Linked DNA regions of Homo sapiens: region 1 is linked to region 2. Evidence: promoter capture Hi-C in 16 types of primary human blood cells and fetal thymus (Javierre and others, 2016). All regions are on one chromosome and are shown on one strand. Each heading gives the region's core, a stretch centred on a gene start or on the middle of the fragment in contact. The rest is flanking DNA. Distances are from core to core; before and after follow the strand shown.

Evidence for each region. The method cuts DNA at HindIII sites, captures the fragments that hold promoters and counts their contacts. A CHiCAGO score of 5 or more calls a contact.
Region 1: a fragment that was not itself captured here is called in contact with the fragment with the promoter of TPCN1 in region 2 in 1 of 17 cell types (neutrophils); the score reaches 6.4 in neutrophils.

Annotation. Positions count from the first base shown.
Region 1 is chr12:124,917,685-124,924,292 of GRCh38, forward strand. TRA-TGC3-2 (tRNA-Ala (anticodon TGC) 3-2) reads right to left here and starts at 4,142; the gene lies at 4,071-4,142. RefSeq lists enhancers at 1-142, 3,348-3,537, 3,373-4,051, 3,618-3,937, a silencer at 1,370-1,519 and a cis regulatory region at 3,593-3,763. The HindIII fragment of the contact is 6,001 bases long and covers 509-6,509 here.
Region 2 is chr12:113,219,543-113,226,810 of GRCh38, forward strand. TPCN1 (two pore segment channel 1) reads left to right here and starts at 1,922. Exons shown (of 28, transcript NM_017901.6): 1 at 1,922-2,084; 2 at 7,186-7,268. It overlaps DRC10 (dynein regulatory complex subunit 10), which reads right to left and starts at 1,552. Exons shown (of 5, transcript NM_001330452.2): 1 at 1,455-1,552. RefSeq lists enhancers at 1,151-1,300, 4,631-4,800, 6,174-6,343 and a silencer at 3,622-3,916. The HindIII fragment of the contact is 6,265 bases long and covers 1-2,789 here.

The sequences.
Region 1 (6,608 bases), core at 2,259-4,758, about 12 Mb after region 2:
TTGTCAAGGACGCCTGCAGGTTAGAGGCCTGGCAAACAGGAAGTAAAAAAAAAAAACCTGGGGAATGTGTTCTTCTTCCTGTTTCTGCTTGTGCTGTATAACTGTGTGGTGGAACACAAACCGCTCCAGCTTAAAAATAACCCATTCATCTCAGCGGTCAAAACCGGACTTAGCTAGTCTCCAAATTTGCCTACTTTAGGAACATTAGGAAGTTATTTAACCTATTTGGGCTTTGTTTGTGTCGTCGTTTGGTTTTGTCTTAAAATTGTGGTAAAATACACATAAAATTTACCATTCTTAAGTGTACATTTCTGTAGCATGAAGTACATTCAGTATTGTGCATCAGCCATCACCACCAAGCCATTTCTGGAGCTCTTTTCGTCTTGCAAAACAAACTCTGTCCCCATGAAAAACTGATTCCCCATTTCTCCCTCCCACCAGCCCCTGGCATCCACCATTCTACTTTCTGTCTCTATGAATTTGACAACTCATGTGACCTCATATAATAAGCTTTGTTTAAGGGTAAAATAAAATTTAATAGTTGAAAAAGCACTTTTTTCAAAGAGTATTTCTAGGAAGCTCCAATTCCTGACACCAACCTTTAACAATAACAACTCCCTGCGGTATTTTTTTTCCTTGTCATGCACTAGTAGAAATATTTGGCTTTGTTTCTTTGTTTTTTGAAACAGTATCTCGCTCTGTCATGCAGTGGTATGATCACGGCTCACTCTGCAGCCTGGATGTTCCGGATCAGGTGATCCTCCCACCTCAGCCTTCTGTGTAGGTAGGACTACAGGTATGCGCCACCACACCTAATTTTTGCATTTTTTGTAGAGAGGAGGGTTTCGCACTTTGGGAGGCTGAGGCCGGTGGATCACCTGAGGTCAGGTGTTCGAGACCAACCTGTCCAACATGCTGAAACTCCATCTCTACTAAAAATACAAAAATTATCAGGTGTGGTAGCTCACGCCTGTAATCCCAGCTACTCCAGAGGCTGAGGCAGGAGAATCACTTGAGCCCTGAAGTCAGAGGTTGCAGTGAGTCGAGATCGTGCCACTGCACTCCAGCCTGGGTGACAGTGAGACTCTGTCTCCAAAAAATAAAATAAGAGATGGGGGTTTCACCATGTTGCCCAGGCTGGTCTTGAACTCCTGGGCTCAAGTGATCCTTCTGCCCTGGCCTCCCACAGGGCTGGGAATACAGACATGAGCTAATGTGCCTGGCTGAAATATTTAATTATAAGGTACAAAGTAATGTCATATAAGTGTGGGGTCATAGTAAGAAATAAAAAATAAAAATAAAAAATATTGAAAAAAATAGCCAGGCATGGTGGCCTACACGTGTAATCCCAGCATTTTTGGGAGGCCAACGTGAGAGGGTCACTTCAGCCCAGGAGTTAAACACCAGCTGAGCTACATGGTGAAACCCTGTCTCTACCAAAACAAACAAACAAAAATTAGCCAGGCGGTGGTGCATGCCTGTAGTTCCAGCTGCTCAGGAGGATGAGGTGGGAGGATCACTTGAGCCCAGGAGTTTGAGGCTGCAGTGAGCTGTGATTGCACCACAGCACTCCAGCCTGGGCAACAGAAACAGACCCTGTCTCAAGCAAAATAAATAAATAAATAAACAAAAGAAGAAACAAAGTAAAACAGAAGTGAAACTGCCTTTGCAAAAGTCATAACAGAAAATTATTACAGTGAAAGAGATCTGACCTCACTGACTCCATCTCGCGTCTAACCTCCAAACTGTCTTTGTTCATTCCTAGGTGTAGGCTGAACTGACTTTGGAGGAGCTTAGTTTATAGTTTAATTCTGAAACAAAGGTGATAGCCTTTTCCTAAAACAAGCCCCCTTCCTGCCTGCGCACTAGACTGCTTTGCAGGACTAACAAATTGGCCACAAGATTACAAATTATGGTTTAGGAGTCACGCAGCTGGAGACTGCAAGATTCTGTCCATGCTGAAATTGCTCCTGAGGATAACATCACTATTGTAAAACCTAAGACCAGTGCTTGAGATATTTTGCATACTCTGCACTCAGTGGGCCGACTGACACCACCCAGATTGATAAACTGGCTCATCTGGTCTTGTGGCCCCCACCTAGGAACTGACTCAGGGCAAAGGGACAGCTTCGACTCCCTGTGATTTCATCTCCGACCCAACCAATCAGTACTCCCGATTTCCCGACCTCCCTACACACCAAATTATCCTTCAAAACTCCAATCCCTGAGTTTTCAGGGAGACTGATTTGAGTAATAGTAAAACTCCCGTCTCCCACACTGCCAGCTGTGTGTGAATTAAACGTTCTCTATTATGGCAGGGCGAGGTGGCTTGCGCCTGTAATCCCAGCACTTCGGGAGGCTGAGGTGGGCGGATCACAGTTTCCCTGTCCTAATAAATGGGCTCTGTCTAGGCAGCGGGCAAGGAGAAACTGTTGGGCAGTTACAGAAGCATGTAAGTTTTGTGTTAGGCCTGATGACTTCAGAAATTATCTTCAATGATTTTCCCCTAAAACCTTGTTGACATTTAGGGAGAAATAACCTTTCCTGAAGCTCATTAGAAACAAGCTGTCACCAATGCGTCACCACCTAACTGGTGAGTCAGTTCGCAAGTTTCATTTTCTTCATCTCAAAAATGAAAGCTCTAGATCTAGGATTAGACGCTTTTACCATTTAAAACATGAAGTCAAGTCAAATGAAAGAAAGGGGCTGACAGGTGAGGAATTCATTATAATTGCAAAGAACTGTACCACAGAATGCAGCCGAATCCCTTCTTTCATTCTTATTATTATTTAGAGAGCTGGGAACTGGTTAAACTTTAAAAAATATAATTTATTTTTATGTATTTATTTTTGCCTAAAGATCATTCATGCAAGTAAATCAATCTCCCCTCCCCTCCCCTTCCCCTTTCCCTCCCCTTCCCCTTCCTTTCCTTTCCTTTCCTTTCCGAGCCAAGGTCTCCCTTTGTTGCCCAGGCTGCTTTCAAACTCCTGGCCTCAAGCAATTCTCCTGCCTCATGCCTCCCAAAGTGCTGGGATTACAGGCCTGAGCCACCATCTTTTGCTTTCAGTGATAAAACACAGAAACACAGTGGAGGTGAAAGCAACTCCATCTTGGTTGCTAATCCACCAAGATAACTTCCGATTAATGCCTCTTCCAGGAAGGTCTCTAAGATTTCTACTTTACTGTTACCATAAATTCTGCCCTTAGATCAGAACAACCTAGATCATAAATCCTTCCCTTATGCGGATTCACATAACATTCTTGCCTTGCTTGAGGGGTCAACTTCAATTGTCCTACATATATTCCTTCCCTATGGTATGGAAGCCCTGGGCCGGGGGTTATGGCGCAGCAAACCTTATATCCTCTGATGACCACCCTGAGACTATGGCTTCTGTTGGTAAGTCCCTAATAAATGTTTTTTCCTGAGAAACTGGGTTTGTCAACCCCTTTCTTTGGCCTCTCAGCTCCCTTGGCCTTTGGGGTAGGTTTGCATAGGCCTGCTCACCCCGGAACACAGTGTATGAATATAAATGTAAATTGCACTTGCATTACAGCCGTGGAGACGTGTTGCTGAGGAAGCAGAGAGCAAAGCCCCGCTGGGATGTGAGTTTGCTTCTGGGTTCCTCCCATGCAAATGAGGTGGTTCGTGGCAGTGCAGAGGAGGAGTGAGATGGCAAACAGGGGGGCCCAGACCTTCCAGCAACTTACACACTTGCCCTCTGATGGCCAAGAATGCGTCAACAGCCCTCGAGGCCAGTGCAGTACAATCATGGTGGCACGAGATGTGGTGTACACTCCCCAAATGATCATCCTGCTCACTTTTGCTGTGGTTTCAGTCATCAAGTCAGGTTTTGCCTTAACACTTTTCTGCTGATTACTCCCATCAGCCTCTTCTAACTCATGTGCATTTGAAACATTAGAGATTTCAGAATGGGAAGATCACACCTGGTGTGAGAATCTGAGCTCCAAGTAGTGCCTGGAATCACAATGCTTATGATAATCACATCCATGGCACTTTAATGATAAAGAACCACGGACCAAAACGAATACAGAAAGCAACAAAACTACAATGGAGATGCCGGGGATCGAACCCGGGGCCTCATACATGCAAAGCATGCGCTCTACCACTGAGCTACATCCCCCTCCCTTTCCTGTACTTGCTTTTGGAAGTCCTTGCTATACTCTATTCTTAAAGGCGTTTTTCCTGTTTCCACGTGTTTCATTTTTATTTTTGGTTTTTATTATTGTTTGGACGCATAACAATTGTGCACATTTATGAGGTGTGGTGTGATGTTGTGATCTATGTACACAATTTGTAATGTTCAAATCAGGGCAATGACCACATCCATCCCTTCAAACATGTATCATTTCTCTGTGCTGGGAGACATTAAAAATCCACGCTTCCAGCTATTTGAAAACGTACAATAAGTTGTTGTATTCACTCTATAGGGACACTGGAACTTATTCCTCCTATTCAGCTGTACTTTTGTATCCAGTAACCCCCCTTTGGCTATCCCACCTCCCCCCACCTTCACTACCTGCAGTAACCACTATTCTCTCTGTGAGACCAACTATTTCAGCTTCCGCACGTGAGTGAGATCATGCAGTATTTATCTTTCTGTGCCCGGTTTATTTCACTTTATGTAATGTCGCCCAAACTTAGCCATGTTTTTATTTTTGTTTCGTAGAGGAAAAATGACAGGATTTCATTTTGTTTTGTATTTTTTTAAGGTCGAATAGTATTCTATTGCGTATGTACACATTTTCTCTATCCATGTATCTGTTGACGGACACATCTAGGCACTTATGAATAAAGCTGCAATACACACGGGAGTGCGAGAGGCTTTTAGTTTTTGGTTGGTTGGTTTGTTTTGAGACAGAGTTTTGCTCTGTCGCCCAGGCTGGAGTGCAGTGGCATGATCTGGGCTCACTGCAACCTCCGCCTCCTGGGTTCAAGCGATTCTCCTGCCTCAGCCTCCCGAGTAGCTGGGACTACAGGCGTGCACCACCACGCCTGCTAATTTCTGTATTTTTAGTAGAGATGGGGGGGGGTTCAGCATGTTGGCCAGGCTGGTCTCGAACTCCTGACCTCAGGTGATCTGCACCCCTTGGCCTCCCAAAGTGCTGGGATTACAGGCGTGAGCCACTGCGCCCAGCCAAGGATATTTTCTAAATTAAACTTTTGTGTGTTTAAGTGAGTGTTAGAGTTTAGCAAAACCACCACAACAACAAAAAATTGTTTTATGTTTCCCAAGTAGGTTAGCTCTTCATAACCTTGCAACTAAAATTCTAGCGGATACCAGAACCAAGGAACAAATGTAAACTGACCCATTCTTAAATGTTCCTCTTCACAGACAGAAGAGAAGAGAAGGAAAATCGAGTTTCTTTCCAACAAATAAGGGCATTGGCTTGATTGTACCTTCACCCAGAAACCTCTGATTTCTCATCCTTTAAAACCATACCAACCTTCAGTGACTTTGAGGTTTGCATATCAGCTGGAAGACATTTTTTCCTCCCAAAAGAACTATTATGGCCGTGCGCCATGGCTCATGCCTGTAATCCCAGCACTTTGAGAGGTAGAGGTCGGCGGATCACTTGAGGCCAAGAGTTTGAGACCAGCCTGGCCAACATGGCGTGAACCCCGTCTCTACCAAAAATACAAAAAATTAGCCGGATGTGGTGGCGAGCGCTTGTAGTCCCAGCTACTCGGGAGGCTAAGGCGAGAGGATTTTTGGAGCCCAGGAGGCAGTGGTTGCAGTAAGCCAAGATCATCCCACAGCACGCCAGCCTGGGAGACAGAGGGAGACCACATCTAAAAAAAAAAAAAAAAAAAAAAAATCCGTCTGAATATAAATATCAGCAAACTGAAAAGAAACATATCCACTTCCCAGAATGAGGGCTTCAGCTTGGAGGAAGGAGTCTCTTTACAATTGCCCACCGAAAAGAGCCATTCTTTTTGTTTGTTTGTTTGTTTGTTTTTTTGAGACCGAGTCTCGCTTTGTCGCCCAGGCTAGAGTGCAGTGGCAGGATCTTGGCTCACTGCAGCCACCGCGTCCCGGGTTCAAACGATTCTCCTGCCTCAGGCTCCTGAGTAGCTGGGATTACAGGCGTGCACCACTACGCCCAGCTAATTTTTGTATTTTTAGTAGAGACGGGGTTTCACCATGTTGGTCAAGCTAGTCTCAAACTCCTGACCTCGTTATCCGCCCCCTGCCCCCCTCCCGCCCGCCCCAGCCTCCCAAAGTGCTGGGATTACAGGCGTGAGTCACCGTGCCCGGCCCTAAGAGCCATTCTTAAACTGTGAATTTGCATCTCTCTTCCAGAGGGTTTCTTAAGCACACCAGGGGAGAGAAGTCACAATGTCTGGTGTCCTTCAGGTCATCAAAAAGCTGTTCCTTGGGGAAAGAATGGGTGAGAAGCTAGGAGAGGGCGGAAAACTGAAGGCTATACCTCTTTCCATCAGCCTTGAGATTTCTTGGCTGGAAATAGACACTTATTGTGATAAGGAAAGCTTGCATCAAAAATGTCCTGCCGCCTCGTTCTCCATAGTTCCCTGACAGCTGCTGGCACTTGAAACTCTTCCTAGCCAAAGACCATGCAAAATTGTC
Region 2 (7,268 bases), core at 672-3,171:
AGAGTTATTTTTATATTCTATATACAACTCTTTTATGACACATGATTTGCAAATATTTCCTCCATGTCTGTGTCTGTGGCTGATCTTTTCATTTTCTTATGAAAATATCTTTTGAACCTCAAAGTTTTTTTTTTATATATTTTTTTGAGACAGGGTTTTTCGCTCTGTCGCCCAGGCTGGAGTGCAGTAGTGCAATCATGGCTCACCGCAACCTCCGCCTCTTGCGATCAAGCAATTCTCCCACCTCAGCCTTATTTATTTATTTATTTATTTATTTATTTTTTGAGCTGGAGTCTCGCTCTATCACCCAGACTGGAGTGCAGTGGCACGATCTCGGCTCGCTGCAACCTCCACCACCCGGGTTCAAGAAATTCTCCCGCTCAGCCTCCTGAGTAGCTGGGATCACAGGCACACGCCACCAGGCCCGGCTAATTTTTGTATTTTTAGTAGAGACAGGGTTTCACCATGTTGGCCAGGCTAGTCGCAAACTCCTGGCCTCAGGTGATCTGCTGGCCCAGGTGATCTGCTGGCCTCGGCCTCCCAAAGTGCTGGGATTACAGGCTGAGCCACCGCGCCCGGCCCTTAGCCTCATTTAATCATCACAAGAAACTCTCTGTCTTCAGTAGGTACAATGAGATCACATCTTAAGGATGGAGATGGGAGTTAAATTCCAAAGTTAGGATAAAGGCAAAAGTGGTGTAATAAAAATTACCTAATTTATTTATTTATTTGAGACAGAGTCTTGCTCTGTTGCCCGGGCTGGAGTGCAATGGCGCTATCTTGGCTTACTGCAACCTAAGTCTCCCGGGTTCAAGTGATTCTCGTGCCTTAGCCTCCCGAGTAGTTGGGATTACAGGTGCGCCTCCATGCTCAGCTAATTTTTGTATTTTCAGTAGAGATGGGGTTTCACCATACTGGCTAGGCTGGCCTAGAACTCCTGACCTCAAGTGATCTGCCCGCCTCGGCCTCCCAAAGTGCTGGGATTACAGGCGTGAGCCACCATGCTCGGCAAAAACAACAACAACAACAACAAAACAAACAAACAAAACTACCTAATTTAAACACTGAAGTGAGATTGCCTGCTCACCGAGGAACGTATGGCCGTTGGGTGAAATGGGAGGGGACTTATAAACTCCCCTCCCACCCACAGCTCCCATGTTTGACTTGAAATAAGTTAACTACGATATGACTCTGCTTGACTGTTGTCCTCCTCGTTTTAGGGATGAGGGAGTGGAGCCATGAAGTGGGCAGGTAGAAGGGCAGAATGGAGGCCGGCTCCCTGCAGGTTGTGGAGCGAAAGGTCCAGACTAAGGCAGGAGCTGAGGGACAGGGTCCTGAAGCTGAGACGAGATCGCAGCGGGGGCTTCTAATTCCTCAGGGAGCCAAAGGACAGAGGGCTGAACCCTATTCCACATCTCCCCCGATCCGCGACCCTTTCCCAACTGGCTACTCACCTGCTCTGACCGCTCCAGGTTTCCCTAGCCACAGTTACCGCCGCGGTCCCTGCGTTGCTAGGTTACCCGCCAATCTCAGAAGGCGAGACTCGGTGTCTGACTGACCTTTCTTTTCACCATTCAATTTATTGTTCCGCTCAGTTGTCCCCACCTCCTGAAGTCTGACCAATCAGAAGCACCGCCATTTTGACCTTTCACCAATGGAAAGACTTGGGACTCCCTCTGGGTTGGACTCAACGAGTAAGGCGGGGAACAAGGGAGGAGTAAGGGGCGTGGATTCTTCGTCCCGCCCCTTCTTAAGGAGGCGGGCAGGGAGTACCGCATCGGCGGCGGGCGAGACCTGCGGAAGGACGTGATAGTTGGCCAATCAGAGTTCATCACGGTAGCCCAGTTAGCCAGTAGGACGCTGTGAAGGGGAAATGGGGCGGGGCCAGCGGGGTTGAGAGGACGGTAGGCGGTGGATAGGAGAGCTGGCGCAGCTGCCCTGGTGGCAGTGGCTGAAGTGGCGGCGGCTTCGGCGGCTGCGGCGGCTGCAACAGCTTCGGGCTCGGGGTTTTGGCGGCGGCGCCGGCGGGCTAGGCTGCGCGGTGCGGACCCCGGCGCGCGGTCCGGGTTGCTGGGGCGGCGCGTGTAAGAATCCGAGGGATGCGACGGCTTGGCCCGAGGGAGAGGGCAGGGATCAGGGGTCAGAGGACGCGGAGTAAGGGGTTGCGGCGCAGCACTCTGGTGTGGGAGGTGGGCCGTACGGGCCCAGAGGGGGCGCAGGGAAGTCTCCACCGCGCTTCTCTCCGTCCAGCCCGGGCCGGGGCTTTGCACCCTCTCTCCTCGCCCCCGACTTCTTAGGGCGACCCTCACGTGGGCTCCCAGCCAGGGGCTGGGAGCACGTGGAGCTGGAGCCAGCTGTCCTGCCTCCTTCTTCCTCCCTCCCTCGCTCTTCTCCCTGGCGCCCTTAGGTGACCCCACAGGAGTCTTGTGCCTGGGTCAGGCTGCCCCAGCGGACAGCGGGATGGTAGCTGAACCTCTTCCCCTAGGCCCTTTCCCCAGCGCTGGCCAGTTGGGTCCTCTGTAGAGGCAGAAGCAAAGCCCGCGGAGGGAACACTGGACCAGGACGCAGGAGTCCCGGGTTCTAGCCCTACTCCTCCACTGTGTGACCTTGGGCAAGTCTCTTCCCCTCTCTGGGCCTCATTTTTGTCTGTCTGGAAAAATGACGTGTTTGAATTCAAATCAGGGGACTGGTTCTAGTCGTAGGTGTATATAGGGTAATGGTTAAGCAGGCAGGGTCCCTGATTCAGACTGCCTGGGTTGAAACTTATAAAAGGCAAGTTAACCACTCCAAGCTTCAATTTCCTCATTCCTAAAGTGGGGATATTAGCTAAGATAGGATTTTTCAACAGCAGCTCAGTTGACATTTTGAGCCACATAATTCTGTTTCGGGAGGTCTCACCTGTGCATTGAAGCAAGTTCAGTGGCATACCTGGACTCCACCCACCAGCAATCCCCCCACTCCCAAGTTGTGACAGTCAAGATGTCTCCAGACATTGCCGATGTCCCCATGGGGGCAAAAATCACCCCAGTTGAAAGCCAGTGGGCAAAGGCAGTACAGGCAGGCAAGCAGTCATATATTAAACAGTTAAACAACCGTGTTGAAGCATTTGAATGCGAGGACTTTAATCTATGGTGGCAGATATCATGAAAATTATGCATGAACAACCCCCCTGCCTCTTTTTTTTTAGCTCATCATTAATGGTAGTGTATTTTATGTGTGGCCCAAGATAGTTCTTCCAGCGTGGCCCAGGGAAGCCAAAAGGTTGGACAGCCGTGAGTTAAAACATAGAAACCACTAGCCATTATGATAATGGTAACATTAAGAAACCTCTTCTCTGTGAGTTAATAAATTCTCCTGCCTTCAAAGTAAACATGGGAGATAATTGTCAAAGCTGAGTAATGGATACAAGGAAGTTCACGTATATATTCTCTGCACTTTTGAGAATGTTTGAAAATATCTGTGGTAAAAAGTTAAACCAAAACGACAATACAACCATAATTCTTAAGACTGCCAAATAGTAGTGTCTCATCTGGGATTTCCTCTTCTGCCTTTCCACTGCTGAGATTTAAAAGCAAAATAAATCCCCAGATCTGGAGGAAACTTAAGAAAAAAAAACTCACAGGAAGTGTGCTGGGCAGAGAGCTACGGGCTTAGCAGCAAGTAGAATGATGTTTACTTTCGCTGCCTTGTTTCAAAACGTTGTACTGTTCCCTGTGGATGCACAAGGATTTGCTTGGAGTTGTTCCAATGATTCGAGGAAGAAGTCAGTTGCTCAGCTGCCATTGACTAGGTCAGTTGGGAGGCAAAGTGGGTTGAGCCCAGAGCCCACAGCTTGAGGAAGGAACCTGCTGCTGTTTGCAAGTTCAAAGGTCTGCAGTCAGATCTGCTGAGTCTTTTTTTTTTTTTTTTTGGTTCTTCTCAGCGGAAACGGGAATGTGCATAAATAGGAGCTGTAACAGGCTAGCTCGGAGTGTTTTACTTATTTAGTTATTTTTAAATTTTTAGTTTATTTATTTTTTGAGATGGAGTCTCGCTCTGTCGCCCAGGCTGGAGTGTAGTGGCGTGATCTCAGTTCACTGCAACCTCTGCCTCCTGGGTTCAAGTGATTCTCCTGCTTCAGGCTCCCCAGTAGCTGGGATTACAGGCATGCACCACCACACCTGGCTAATTTTTGTATTTTTAGTAGAGACCAGGTTTCGCCATGTTGGCCAGGCTGGTCTCAAACTCCTGACCTCAAGCGATCCACCTGCCTCGGCCTCTCAAAATGTTGGGATTACAGGCATGAGCCACCACTCCCGGCTGCTCTGAGTGTTTTAAATTGGGAGTTAAGGATGAGCACTTTTACTGTATTAAAAAATACTCACCAGTTAAAAAAAAATACTCTTTTCCCCTTCCTCGGACACCTAAATCTAAGAGAACAACTCCTATATAAAAATGATATAAAAATCATACATTTTGGAAGTATGTTTCTAACTGTTCTGAGAGGCTGCATGGTAAAGCTGAAGTGAAAGATGTATTTTAAATCTGTATATATGAGCAAGTATATATTGATGATTGAAGCTAGGTGCTGCCTAAATACATGGCCCAGACTTTGAGGAATTATAGTGTAATGGCTGGGAATACAGGTTTGGAGTCACACCGTAGAGCTGAAAGCTTGGCTTTTATTTAGCTGTGGGTCCTTGGGCAGGATACGTAATCTGTCTGTGCCTGAAATACCCACCACACCCATCCTGTAATGGGGGGATAATAAGCCTGCCTATCTCATGGGGCTATTAAGAATTTTCAGTTAACTTTTACTTATGAAGTGCTAGTAGGGTCCCTCATACATAGTACGCACTCATTGAGTATTAACTATTATTATTATTACTATTTTGAGACGAGTCTCGCTCTGTCGCCCAGGCTGGAGTGCAGTGGTGCAATCTCGGCTCACTGCAAGCTCCGCCTCCCGGGTTCACGCCTTTCTCCTGCCTCAACCTCCTGAGCAGCTGGGACTACAGGCGTCTGCCACCACGCCCGGCTAATTTTTTGTATTTTTAGTAGAGACGGGGTTTCACCATGTTAGCCAGGATGGTCTTGATCTCCTGACCTCGTGATCCGCCCGCCTCGGCCTCCCAAAGTGCTGGGATTACAGGCATGAGCCACCGCGCCTGGCCGCATATTAACTATTATTTTAATGGTTGTATTTTTTTGTCATTTAATTTAATTAAATTAATTTATTTATTTATTTGAGGTGGAATCTGGCTCTGTCGCCCAGGCTGCAGTGCAGTGCACCATCTCGGCTCACTGCAACCTCTGCCTCCTGGGTTCAAGTGATTCTCCTGCCTCAGCCTACAGAGTAGCTGGGATTACAGGCGCAAGCCACCACACCCAGCTAATTTTTGTATCTTTAATAGAGGCGGGGTTTCTTCATTTTGGCCAGGCTGGTCTTGAACTCCTGAGCTCAAGTGATCCACCCGTCTCTGCCTCCCAAAGTGCTGGGATTACAGTTGTAAGCCACCGTGCCCAGCCTTTTATTTTACTTTATTTTTTAGAGACAGGGTCTCACTCTGTTGTCCAGGCTGGACTGCAGTGGTGTGATCATAGCTCACTATAACCTCCAACTCCTGGGATCAAGTGTTTCCGTCACCTCAGCCTCCCAAGCAGCTAGGCCTACAGGCATATGCCATCATACCCAGCTAATTTAAAATTTTTTATTTTGTAGAGATGGAGTCTTGCTACATTGCCCAGGCTGGTCTTGAACTGCTAGGCTCAAGCAGTTCTCCCACCTTGACCTCCCAAAGCGCTGAGATTACAGGTGGGAGCCACTGTGCCCAGCCTATTTTTTTCTTTGAAGTCTTTACAAAACTTACAAATAAATGTAAAGAGAAGTGGAGGTAGGACATATTGGCCCTAATGTCACTCTCCAGACAGAATTACCCTTAACTTTTCAGTATTTGTTCTTGCAGGGTTCCCTCCCTCCGTATTTTAATGCTATTATACTGTAATAATGCTTTTATTCTGTTTTTATTTATTTATTTATCTTTATTTTATTTTTTTGAGACAGAGTCTCGCCCTGTCACCCAGGCTGGATGGCTCTATCTCGGTTCACTGCAACCTCTGCCTTCCGGGTTCAAGCGATTCTCCTGCCTCAGCTTCTTGAGTAGCTGGGATTACCGGCACGTGCCACCCCGCCCAGCTAATTTTTTGAATTTTTGGTAGAGATGGGTTTTCACCATGTTGGCCAGGCTGCTCTCAAACTCCTGACCTCAGGATCCGCCCGCCTCGGCCTCCCAAAGTGCTGGGATTACAGGTGTCAGCCACTGTGCCCGGCCTAATTCTTTTATTTTTTAAGAGACAGGATTTCACTCTGTTGCCCAAGCCAGAGTGCAGTGGTGCAGTCATAGCTCACTGTAGCCTTGAACTCCTGGGCTCAAGTGAGCCTTCTGAGTAGCTGGGACTACAGGTGTGCCACCTGCCCAGCTAATTTTATTTATTTATTTATTTTTGTATGTTAAATATTTATTTTATTTTTTTCTGTGTGTATGCTTACCCAACCAGCTTTTTTTTTTTTTAATTTTTTATAGAGACAAGGTCTTGCTATATTGCCCAGGCTGATCTCAAATTCCTGGCCTTAATTGATCTTCCCACCACAGCCTTCCAAAATGCTGGGGTTACAGATGTGAGCCACCCCACCGGCCAATTTTTTTAAAAATTGAGTTTTAATTTACCATTTTATTATTTTTTAAATTAAGATATAATTTACCATTTTATTATTTATTTTGAGACAAGGTCTCTGTCACTTAAGCTGGAGTGCAGTGGCATGATCTCTGCTCACTGCAGCTTCCACCTCCTGGGTTTAAGCAATTCTCATGCCTCAGTTACCCGAGTACCTGGGATTACAGGCACCTACCACCAAGCCCAGCTAATTTTCTGTATTTTTAGTAGAGATGGGGTTTTGCTATGTTGGCCAGGCTGGTCTTGAACTCCTGGCTCAAGTGACCCACCCACCTTGGCCTCCCAAAGTGCTGGGATTATAGGTGTGAGCCACCGCGCCTGGCCCTAGTTCACCATTTTAAAGAGTATACTTGAGTGGTTTTTATTCACGAGGTTGTGCAACCATCACCACTATCTAATTTCAGAATAGATTCATCAGTCATGGCTGTATTTTAATAATTATCTTTTATTTTTTTAATTCCCAAACCCTAGAAGATGCCTCTAATGGAGGAGTTTCTGAGCAGCACCCCTGGCCCAGTGGCTTTGAAAGGGAGCTCAAACCAGAGACTATTTCA